Regions from separate parts of the Homo sapiens genome. Here all the other regions are linked to region 2. Evidence: promoter capture Hi-C in 16 types of primary human blood cells and fetal thymus (Javierre and others, 2016). All regions are on one chromosome and are shown on one strand. Each heading gives the region's core, a stretch centred on a gene start or on the middle of the fragment in contact. The rest is flanking DNA. Distances are from core to core; before and after follow the strand shown. Region 1 holds the start of LCE2C (late cornified envelope 2C). Region 2 holds the start of LCE1F (late cornified envelope 1F). Region 3 has its middle 4.8 kb from the start of LINC00302.

The links. The method cuts DNA at HindIII sites, captures the fragments that hold promoters and counts their contacts. A CHiCAGO score of 5 or more calls a contact.
Region 1: the fragment with the promoter of LCE2C here is called in contact with the fragment with the promoter of LCE1F in region 2 in 17 of 17 cell types (non-activated CD4 T cells, fetal thymus, neutrophils and 14 more); the score reaches 17.7 in non-activated CD4 T cells.
Region 3: a fragment that was not itself captured here is called in contact with the fragment with the promoter of LCE1F in region 2 in 1 of 17 cell types (M2 macrophages); the score reaches 6.7 in M2 macrophages.

What each region holds. Positions count from the first base shown.
Region 1 is chr1:152,674,001-152,677,540 of GRCh38, forward strand. It overlaps LCE2C (late cornified envelope 2C), which reads left to right and starts at 1,279. Exons shown (of 2, transcript NM_178429.5): 1 at 1,279-1,328; 2 at 1,995-2,569. The coding sequence starts at 2,016. The coding sequence ends at 2,348. The HindIII fragment of the contact is 8,836 bases long and covers 1-3,540 here.
Region 2 is chr1:152,773,428-152,776,659 of GRCh38, forward strand. It overlaps LCE1F (late cornified envelope 1F), which reads left to right and starts at 1,713. Exons shown (of 2, transcript NM_178354.3): 1 at 1,713-1,763; 2 at 2,923-3,232. The coding sequence starts at 2,945. The HindIII fragment of the contact is 9,364 bases long and covers 1-3,232 here.
Region 3 is chr1:152,648,971-152,652,401 of GRCh38, forward strand. No RefSeq gene overlaps it. Among named protein-coding and RNA genes, the nearest start is that of LINC00302, 4.8 kb to the right of the region's middle. The HindIII fragment of the contact is 4,084 bases long and covers 1-3,431 here.

The DNA.
Region 1 (3,540 bases), core at 29-2,528, 100 kb before region 2:
CATTTCATATAAATAACATCATACAATATGCAGTCTTTTGTGACTGGCTTCTTTCACGTAGTGTAATGTTTTCAAGGTTCACACTCAATGTATCTGTTTAAACTAAATGAATAAATGACTGGGTAACTCTGTCTAGTGCAACCCTGAATCAGAACTCTGAATAACTAGATTCCTGGCTGACCCTCTACTTCCTGGTAGGAAAGGAGTTCCCTCTGCATAGGAGCCCCAAGAAATGATGTCTACTTCCCAAGACAGGTTTCAAATAATCTAAGTGTCTGGTGGAGTTAAGCTCTCTGAGGGTAAGGGCTCTATATGGGCAATTAATGACACATAAGACCGGGGCAAGTATCCAATACATGGCATTAGTTTTTCTATTAAACATATATTTATTAAGGGTCTATCAGGCACAAAATGTCATACTTAGCTCTTTCTTGCTTCTCACTTTATATTACAAACAGCTCAGTGAGATAGGTATATCTCACTGATAGGTTTATAATGGGCATTATATGTGAGAACTGATACTCACAGTGAGTATCATAGTAATACTCTAGCAATTATTGATAATTGTTACAGCAACTTTCAGAGATTACCCAGTTATCATATGCAAGTTTTCTGATTCCAGTAGCACATTCAATACAAGTCCTCTGACTGAAGGAAATGTTTAGATTTTAGAGGGAATTGTTTATTCTCAATCATTCTCCTTGCTTTAGGTGACAGAATCAACTCAGATTTAATCCACCGAATCTGCTTGCCATGGTGAGTCGGAGGAAAAGCAGAAACACAGAGGCCAGGAGGAAGGGCTGAGAGCCTAGGCAAGGGAGGGATGCCTAGAAAAAGCCAAGGCTGTAGAAGCCCTCTGGGATGGCTGGATCCACAGCAGGACATGGAAGAGAAACTGCTCAGGGTGGAGGGAGTCATAATGGAACATTTCCACAAGGTCAGGGAAAGCTGTGGCTCAGAACTGATGTTTCCTCAGAGGACATGCATTAAAAAAATGCAGGGAACAGAATCTTGTCCAGGTGTGGGTCCCTTGGGTACCCTAAGTTAACTCTTTAGGGTTCCCACCTGGTGGAGGCTCTGACTGGCTACAGCCTCTCTAGACTGCAGCCCCAGAGAGGAGTCCTGGAAGCTCCTGAGGCCTCTTTGGATTGCAGGGACTAAGAGGCAGGAGAATGTCAGGAATGACCCAGCGTGTGCCTGGTTGTGCAAGAGCCACCTCCTGCTCTTTCCAGAGCCAAGCCTGGGCCCTATAAAAGACACATCCAGCTTCAGCATCTCATCTGCTCTGACTCCCCAGGGACGTGTCTGTGCTCCTGCGTGTGACCAGGGTGAGTGGCAACCTGGGATACCAGAGGGGTATGAGCAAGGCAGAGGGATGGGGAGGATGGAGGTAGGCTGGAGAAAGAGTTGTGTGCTTGTGTTCTGCCATACTGAGCAGGAATGGGACTCAGCCTGCCTCGAATCTGTTGAGGCTCTGAGGCCTACCGGAGCTCATATAGGTGGGGAAAGCTAACTGTGCACATCTTTTCCAATTCTGTGTTCAGTGACTTCATGTTGGTAACTTCAAAACTGCTGTGTTGGGCATATTTACACCATGGAAACTGGCAAATACTTCAAGCCAGGCTCTTTTATCTGGAGGTTTCATTGCAAAATATTTTCCAGAGGACCCCTTGGTATGTCCTGCAACACCCAGCTTGTCCTTAGGGCTTGTATTAAAGGAATAGGTACTTCAGGGAGCTGTGAATACTCTATTCGGGCTTGTGAGGATAGAGCAATCGCAGTTTCCCCTGAAAGGAAGAGTAAGAAGCTCATTCTGTTGATTTTTTATCTACGTACTTTTATCTAGAGGAAAGATTCAAGTTGTTTCTTTCAGGTTACTGATGTGATTGTATTATCTAAATATCATTCTTCTTCTACACATGCATTGATTTTAGAAGAGGTATAATATGATCCTTGGTTTGAAATATTTAAAGAGTTTCATTATTATCTTTCAGGTTGACTAAACTCCTGCCAGCATGTCTTGCCAGCAAAACCAGCAGCAGTGCCAGCCCCCTCCCAAGTGTCCTCCCAAGTGTACCCCAAAATGTCCACCTAAGTGTCCCCCCAAATGCCCACCACAGTGCCCAGCTCCATGTTTCCCTGCAGTCTCTTCTTGCTGTGGTCCCAGCTCTGGGAGCTGCTGTGGTCCCAGCTCTGGGGGCTGCTGCAGCTCTGGGGCTGGTGGCTGCTCCCTGAGCCACCACAGGCCCCGTCTCTTCCACCGGCGCCGGCACCAGAGCCCCGACTGCTGTGAGAGTGAACCTTCTGGGGGCTCTGGCTGCTGCCACAGCTCTGGGGGCTGCTGCTGACCTGGGCTACAGAAGAGCTCTTGGGACTGAATGGCCAAGAACCTGCTACGGCCTGATGGATACTCTTTCCACTTCCTCTCATTCCATTCATTGGTTGGCAGAGACCACAAAGACTCATGGGGCTTTCCTGGAAGAACTTCGTGCTTGATGTAACACCCCAATTGCAAGTCTTCTTTTCCTCCTTTACCTCATGTTATAATAAAGCTCTGATCTCTGACTCACTAAATGTCTTGGTCATTCTCTTCTCTTCTGAGATTTCAAATGTCCTCCAAAGGTCAGGGCCTCAGAGTAATTTTCTTCATGAGGCTAGGACAGGACATGAGTAGGTGATACATGAAAAGCTGCTCTGAGGAACTGATTCCCCCAGATGCTGAGTGAATGGAGCTCCAAGAGGGTCACCTCTGGCTATGGTAGCTTTGCCTTTCTCTCCACTAAGCCAGACACATGTTCTAATTTTCTGTGTAATCCAGACGTTGGGAAGGTTGGGAAGCTCTGCAGACTTGTTCTTCTCTAGGGAGAAGAACACATCCCTATGAAGCAAAACTTTCCTGCCCTTAGAATCAATAGTTGGATAAAATGCTTGAAACAGATGTTGAGACCCTTCCTCCTGTAAAGTACAGCCCATGGTCACTCAGCTTCTTTTCATGAGTCTGGTTAAGATCAGCCTTTTGACTTGCTGCCTTGGACACCTGGCTTCAGTTCCTCACAGTGTTAGATCTGAGTCCCAGGATGCTGTCCTGCCACTTGGCTCACGTGCTGGGCAGGGGAGTGATGAGTGATGGAGATATTAAGTGAAAAAACATGGAAGTGTTGCTTAGAAGATACAAAGAATATAAGGAACATAAGAATACAAAGAATACAAAACGCTGTATGAAAGAATAGACCTTTCCTCCTTCAATACTTATCTTTTTTGCCAAGCCACCCTCAGAATGTGAGGGGGGAGAAGCGCCAGGATGGGTGGGGCATCTTAAGTATTACTAGAGGAAGGGGAGGGAAGCAGGGACACAGCAGGGGAAACAAGGGCTAGTGCTTCTTAGGTTCAGGCTGACAGGTGTCGACATGAAGATAATGGATTCAGCAAAGACGGATTTTGACAGAGATGGAGCCTCTTATTAATATGTTTACCTTCTTACTTACCCTTAGTGCCACTAAGACAAAAACCCAGCTGATTAACCAGTTTGAGATTCTGTAC
Region 2 (3,232 bases), core at 463-2,962:
CTCTGTTTTGGTACCAGTACCATGCTGTTTTGGTTGCTGTAGCCTTGTAGTATAGTTTGAAGTCAGGTAGCGTGATGCCTCCAGCTTTGTTCTTTTGGCTTAGGATTGACTTGGCAATGAGGGCTCTTTTTTGGTTCCATATGAACTTTAAAGTAGTTTTCTCCAATTCTGTGAAGAAAGTCATTGGTAGCTTGATGGGGATGGCGTTGAATCTATAAATTACCTTGGGCAGTATGGCCATTTTCACGATATTGATTCTTCCTACCCATGAGCATGGAATGTTCTTCCATTTGTTTGTATCCTCTTTTATTTCCTTGGGCAGTGGTTTGTAGTTCTCTTCCTGAAACTCTAAATACATGGGTGCTAGAATGTTTGATATTATTCCACTGGTCACTGATCATCTGTTCATTTTTTTAATATTTTTCCCTTTCTTCAGTTCAGTTTGAACAATTTCTTCAAGTTCACCGATCTGTTCTTCTGCAACTTATAATCTGCTAAAACCATCCAATAATTCTTTGATGTTATATGTAATTTTGACCATATTTATTTTTCAAATATTGGTTTTTTATTGTTAGATTTTGCATTTGGTTAGTTTTGAGCATGGGAAACTGGGAAATTAAACCCAGGAAATGTGTATTGCAACAAAGCCAATAATTTCAAATTAAATATTGACTATGTCTATTCTTGTCTATACCAACTACACCACTCCAAGTCACAGTTCAAAGCCACCTCATTGGCTGTTCTCTTCTCTTCACCCTTCTCATCTTTATTTTACCTCATCCCTTCAGCTTTTCCTCAGGAAACTGCAAATTCTTTTATGCTATAATTTGGGGCAATATACATCCTTTAGTCCTCTTTTCTTATACCCACTCTGGATCTACCTTCAGAAAGCCCTATTCACTGAGGTACGTAGGAGGAAAAAAAAATGGCCTTTAGTTTTAATAAGAGCCACCTAACTTAAAAGGCACCTGTGACTTTAAAAATTCCCAATGTCCATTAAAATCTCAGGTTTGCCTCTATTTTTCTTTCTATCTATCTATCTATCTATCTATCTATCTATCTATCTACCTATTCATCCATTTCCTAATTATAACCACATGCCACATACTATCTCAGCTACTTCCCCTTTGTTATCTTAATTAATTTGTAAATCCTGCAGAAAAGATATTTCTCTTATTATCTTCATTTAAAACATCAGAAAGCCAATGGCCAAAAATATTGAATACTTTGCCAGGGTCTCCAAGGCCTCTTTTCTCGACTTCTATGATGCACACACATGCCCATGTGCACATGGACAAACCCCATAATGCAGGCATGTGGATTTTTAACCAAGCTATATGGACCCAAAGGTCTAGATGGAAAATTAGTATCTAGAATAGAAGGAAAAATGAGTTGTTTGTGCAGAATTCATAAGTGTGACTACAAGACTGTGAAGAGAGCCATCTTCATAGGAAATAGGCCACGGAGGACTCCAGGAACCATGATGTCCATTTTCACCCACCACAAGCCCCCATTTCCACCAAGCTCTTTCCTAGCTGACAGCAGCTCCCCTGAACACCAATGAAGGACGGTATATGCAGAACTGCCAGTCACCACTCGTCACAAGACCTATGTGGGTGTCGGGAGGCAGGTCCTCTCATGCCCAGGCTCTGTCTCACCGCTGGAGGCAGCACCCAAGGACAGAATAAAAGGGCTCAGGGCCAGAGCATCCCATCCACTCACCTCCTGCGGTGCTGAAGAACCCTGTGCTGCCTGTGATCCTGGTAAGTGTGCCCTGGAAAAAGGAGCAGGGGCTTCCACAGAGGGATGCCCAGGCCAGGGAAGGAGGGGATGGATACTCAGACCAGGGCAGGAGTAGAGTCTAGGCAGGGCCTCAGGGGCCTGGAATTGTGATTGGCAAGGAATGGGGTGGGGGCAGAAAATTGGAAAGAGGAGGTAGAGGGGTGGGGTGGAGTGAGAGAGATTAAGAAGAACTGGTAAGATCTGAAGGGCTGTATGACACAGATTTAGAGGAACCAAATTGTTTTCAGTTGCTCAGTGTGTTTCTCTGGTTTTAGAGAATAAACACATTGGCCACTGGATGTTGCTAGAGTGGGCTGCATAGTGGGAATATAATTTTGGAAATACAGACATACTCACTTTTAGAAAAGATATGCTGAGAACACTGCTACTTAGAGGAAGAAAGGATCAAAGACACCTGTGGATCTTGTTAGATGCCAACAAGAAGATCTGTAGTGGAAAACTGAGTGCACACTGGAGTTTAAAAGCCATGTGACAGTGCCTGGGGACAGGCCTGGGGAGGCAGGATGTGCTAAAGGGCAGAGCCCAGGATGGGAACCAGGGGACCCCGGAACAAATGTGACTGTTAATGAATAACTTTGGGCCAGTGAAGTTACCTCTTTTGGCTTCAGTTTCTTTATTTATATATTGAGTTGGTTGGAACAAATTGACTCCAACATCCTTTGCGGTTATAGTTTTCTCTATTTCTGCAAACTGAAATATATCAGTTCTTCCAATAGAAATTTATTTTGATTTTTCCTTAAAGAGATTTTCATCTCTAAACTGGTCTCAACATTGAACATTTTCAGAATTCTTGGTGATGTGATAGAATGAATGCTGGCCCGGAGCCAATTTATTTCCTGGACTTCTCTCCCACACTTAGGAGCTTTTAATGAGCAGAAACTTTATTTACATATTTGGAGATTATATATTGCATGACAACATCTCAAATAAGGTTTGAAATGAGAATCCATGAATGAAAGCACTTGGTAAACATTGAGAGTGATAAAAACATTAGAGGTGATTTTCCTATGTTTGATATAAGGCTTTCAAAATGAAGGATCTAGAAATAATGCAGAAAGGACAAGAATAGGCAGGGGTGTCCTCTGCCTCCATCTAACTTGCTGTCTGACCCTCCTTCAGCTCCTGAACACCCGCCACCGAGATGTCTTGCCAGCAGAGCCAGCAGCAGTGCCAGCCCCCTCCCAAGTGCACTCCCAAGTGCCCTCCCAAGTGCCCCACACCGAAGTGCCCCCCAAAGTGTCCCCCTAAGTGCCCTCCTGTCTCTTCCTGCTGCAGCGTCAGCTCCGGAGGCTGCTGTGGCTCCAGCTCTGGGGGCTGCTGCAGCTCTGGGGGTGGTGGCTGCTGCAGCTCTGGGGGAGGCGGCTGTTGCCTGAGCCACCACAGACGGCGTAGGTCCCACCGCCACAGACCCCAGAGCTCTGACTGCTGC
Region 3 (3,431 bases), core at 414-2,913, 120 kb before region 2:
GAAGAACTCAGGAAAATGGTTGGGAATTAAATTAGTTTGAGTTTCACATCCTCATCCTTCTTTCTCCGACCCCCTAGAAGGTGGTAGACTACAATCTAAAAGGTAGGTAATATTTTTTGCCAGGGAGGGGGAAGGAGAAGTATCGAGGTAAAGTCCTCACCTGATGAGCTGGTTTCCTGATGCTTGGACTATAAAGTGGGGCCTTGACCTCACTGGGGGCTTGACAGAGACACTGGAGCCTTTCCCTCGTAATTATTTCCAGTCAGAATCTCTAATACTCCCCAGCAGAATATGAATTCACAGGCCTAAATGATAAAAACATAAAGTCACAAGCATTTAAAAAGATTCCACTAACATCAGAGGTATTAGAAATAATTCACCATTGTTTAAAATGAATACATAAGATTCTTTGATGTTCTATGAAGTAAATTCTTAATTCATCAGCACTTTTTGCCCCTGACCAATACTTTTTTAAAAAAAGTATTATAAATATACTGAATATGAAAAGAAGTTGAATCAAAAGACAAGAAAAAAGAAATTGAATCAAAATACAAAACTCCTTATGAGATATCCAAGGAATAATAAATACAACTAAATGTACAGTAAGGGACACACAAGTTAGAAAATATAAAAGAATAACAACAACAAAAACCCCTAAAGGATAAGACAGAAGGTAATGAATATAGAAGACAGACAATGGAGATCTAACTTACATATAATTTGTATACCTGAAGAAGGAAAGAAAGACAATGAATTAGAATAAATACTTCACATTATAATTCAGAGACTTTTATCTATGTATGGAGTAAAATTCTCTTTCTTCCACTCAATGCAACTATAAAACCTGGGAAGACTGACAGGAACTAGCTAGTTGGGAGCTAGAAATAGCAGCAGACAGATAGGGGAAGGACATGAGAATTAAAAAAGTAGAACTGAAAAGGTGCATAGCTTCACTTTTCCTCCTTTGGTTTCTCCTGGCCTGAACTTAATGCAGGTGGAAACCTGGAAATGAGAGCTGTGGGGGCACATACAGAGTTTTTGAAGAAGTCAGCTAGTTCTGGCTTGAGGAGCAAAAGGGTAAGCCCATAGAAGATGTGGAAGTCCCCCATTTCAATCTCCTTGTTCTTTCATACCCCATATCTCAGGCAACTCCATGGTGGATGGCAGTGACAACAGCTGATAAGGGAGCTAGCAGGAGTATAAAATGTGAGAAGAGGAACTACTTCTCCATTTCATGGAGCTGTAATCCCAAAAGGGTGGGGCCAACCCCTATTGCTTTCTTTCTCTCACTGTCTTCCCAATTCTTGGTCCTAGACATGGGCCTAGTCATATAAATGTGTGGAGAGAAGGGTAACTAGAGGCTCAATTTCTGGCAAGAAGACCATGAAGGTGAGCCTCGCTGAACCTGAAAGTACTGAGGAGATTGCAGAGAGAGAGACAGAAGCTCAGGAAAGAGACCCCATAAAATTGTTTATGAATTCCAGAGTTTGCTGTGAGGACACACGTGCAAGGCTCTGATCCTCATTAGCAGACAAAAAAGTGATAACTTATTAATAGAGGTTCTACTTCCCAGATCTCAGGCTGATGCTGGTTGGCACTCACTCTGGACAGTTATGAACAGCACTACAAAAACCTCAAAAACTTAATTGATAATTGGAATAGTTTTACATGGAAGGTTGCCCATTAAAATGAAAACATCAACATTTTCCATCAAATTTAAACAAGATCCAGAGTCTTGTTTAGAATGTTAAAAATATCCAGCATACAAACAATTACTTTACAAAAGAAGAACCACGAAAATGTCACTCGCATAGGAAGAAACAATAAACAGAAACCAATGCTCAGATAACACAAATATTGAAATTATCTGGCAAAGACTTTAAAGCAGCTATTATATGAATGCTCAAATGAGCAATTATAAACACTATTGAAATAATGTTAAAATAAAAAGTCTCAGCAAAGATAATAATATAAAGAAGAACCAAATAGAAATGTTAACACTAAAAAATGCAATAATTAAATTTTCAAAAAGCCACTGGATAAATTTAATAGCAGAAGGAGATGACAAAGAAAGAGTCAGTAGACTTGAAAATGGATCAGGAGAAATAATCTAATCTAAACAACAGAGAGAAAAACAAACAAGAAATTAGCAGAGCATCAGGGATCTGTGAGACAATAACAAAATCTATCATTTATGTCATTGAAATCCCAGAAAGACAGAAGAATGAGTGTAGAACTGAAAAAAATGTGTGAAGAAATAATAGTTGAAACTTTTCAAGTTTAGTAAAAGAAATAAACATACAGTTTCAAGAATCAGAGTGAACCCAAAACTCATGAAATCACCAAGAGTGATCCCAAGCTAAGCTCAAAAAACCCTGATAACATCAGCTGAAAACTAAAGACACAGGAGTAATCTTGAAAACAGCCAGAAAAAATGATGCATCACTAAAACAGGAGCAAAGATTCAAATCATTGCAGATTTCTTATCAGAAATCACAGAGGCCAGAAGAAAGTAGCTTATCATTTTTAAAGTACTGAAGGAAAACAACAAAAATGACAATTGTCAACCAGATATTTACATGCAGCAAATAATTTTCTGTCTTTCAACAATGAAGGTGATATAGAGACATTCTCAGATGGGAGAAAACTAAGGGAATTTAGAACCTGCCCACCTGGACATCCCTAGTACTTCCAGCTCTCTGCATGTATGGGCAAAGTGGCTCCAGAACTCAAGGGCAGCCTAGATACTGATGAAGAGCTGCAGGTACTGGCTGTTGAAGGTGAGAAAACAACAGAAGGTGGGGGTTGGGGTGGGCAGTGTGCACAAGAGCAGTAAAAAGGGACAAGAGATAATCTAGGTAGTACATGCATGTTGACTGCCAAAATTTCCCCTGAAGTATGCTCTTTATATTTTAAGAATCTTAACAGAGGACTTATATTGCTCATTTCCATTCTTCATTTAGACTAACTATGCATACACATCAAAGTTCATTTGTTCACAATTAGTTTTCACTCATATACATTTTTGCTTTATTTATGGTAAAATTTTTCATATTGTGTGCCATCTCATTTTATTTCATTGTTTTCTGGGTATACACATTTATGTTTTCCTCAATTTTAAATATTTAAATTATTTTTTCACTCAGATAACATAATATATATTTGCTTTTATTTTTTCTGAATAAAGATATACGCTTTTCTTCTCCTTTCAAGTCTTCAATAAATCTAGAATTTGCCTGAAGTATTTGGTGATGCCTCCCCTCCCTTGGTTTCCCATGGTAGAGATAGATTGCATTGTTGCCAGTATTCATGCCCTTATGCATTGTGACTTTGCAGTTCCCCTCACTGAGGAGCAAAATATATTTCCTAATCCCTTGACCTCGAGTTTGGCCTTCTGGCTTTCTTTGGTCAATAGAATAACGGAGCAGTGA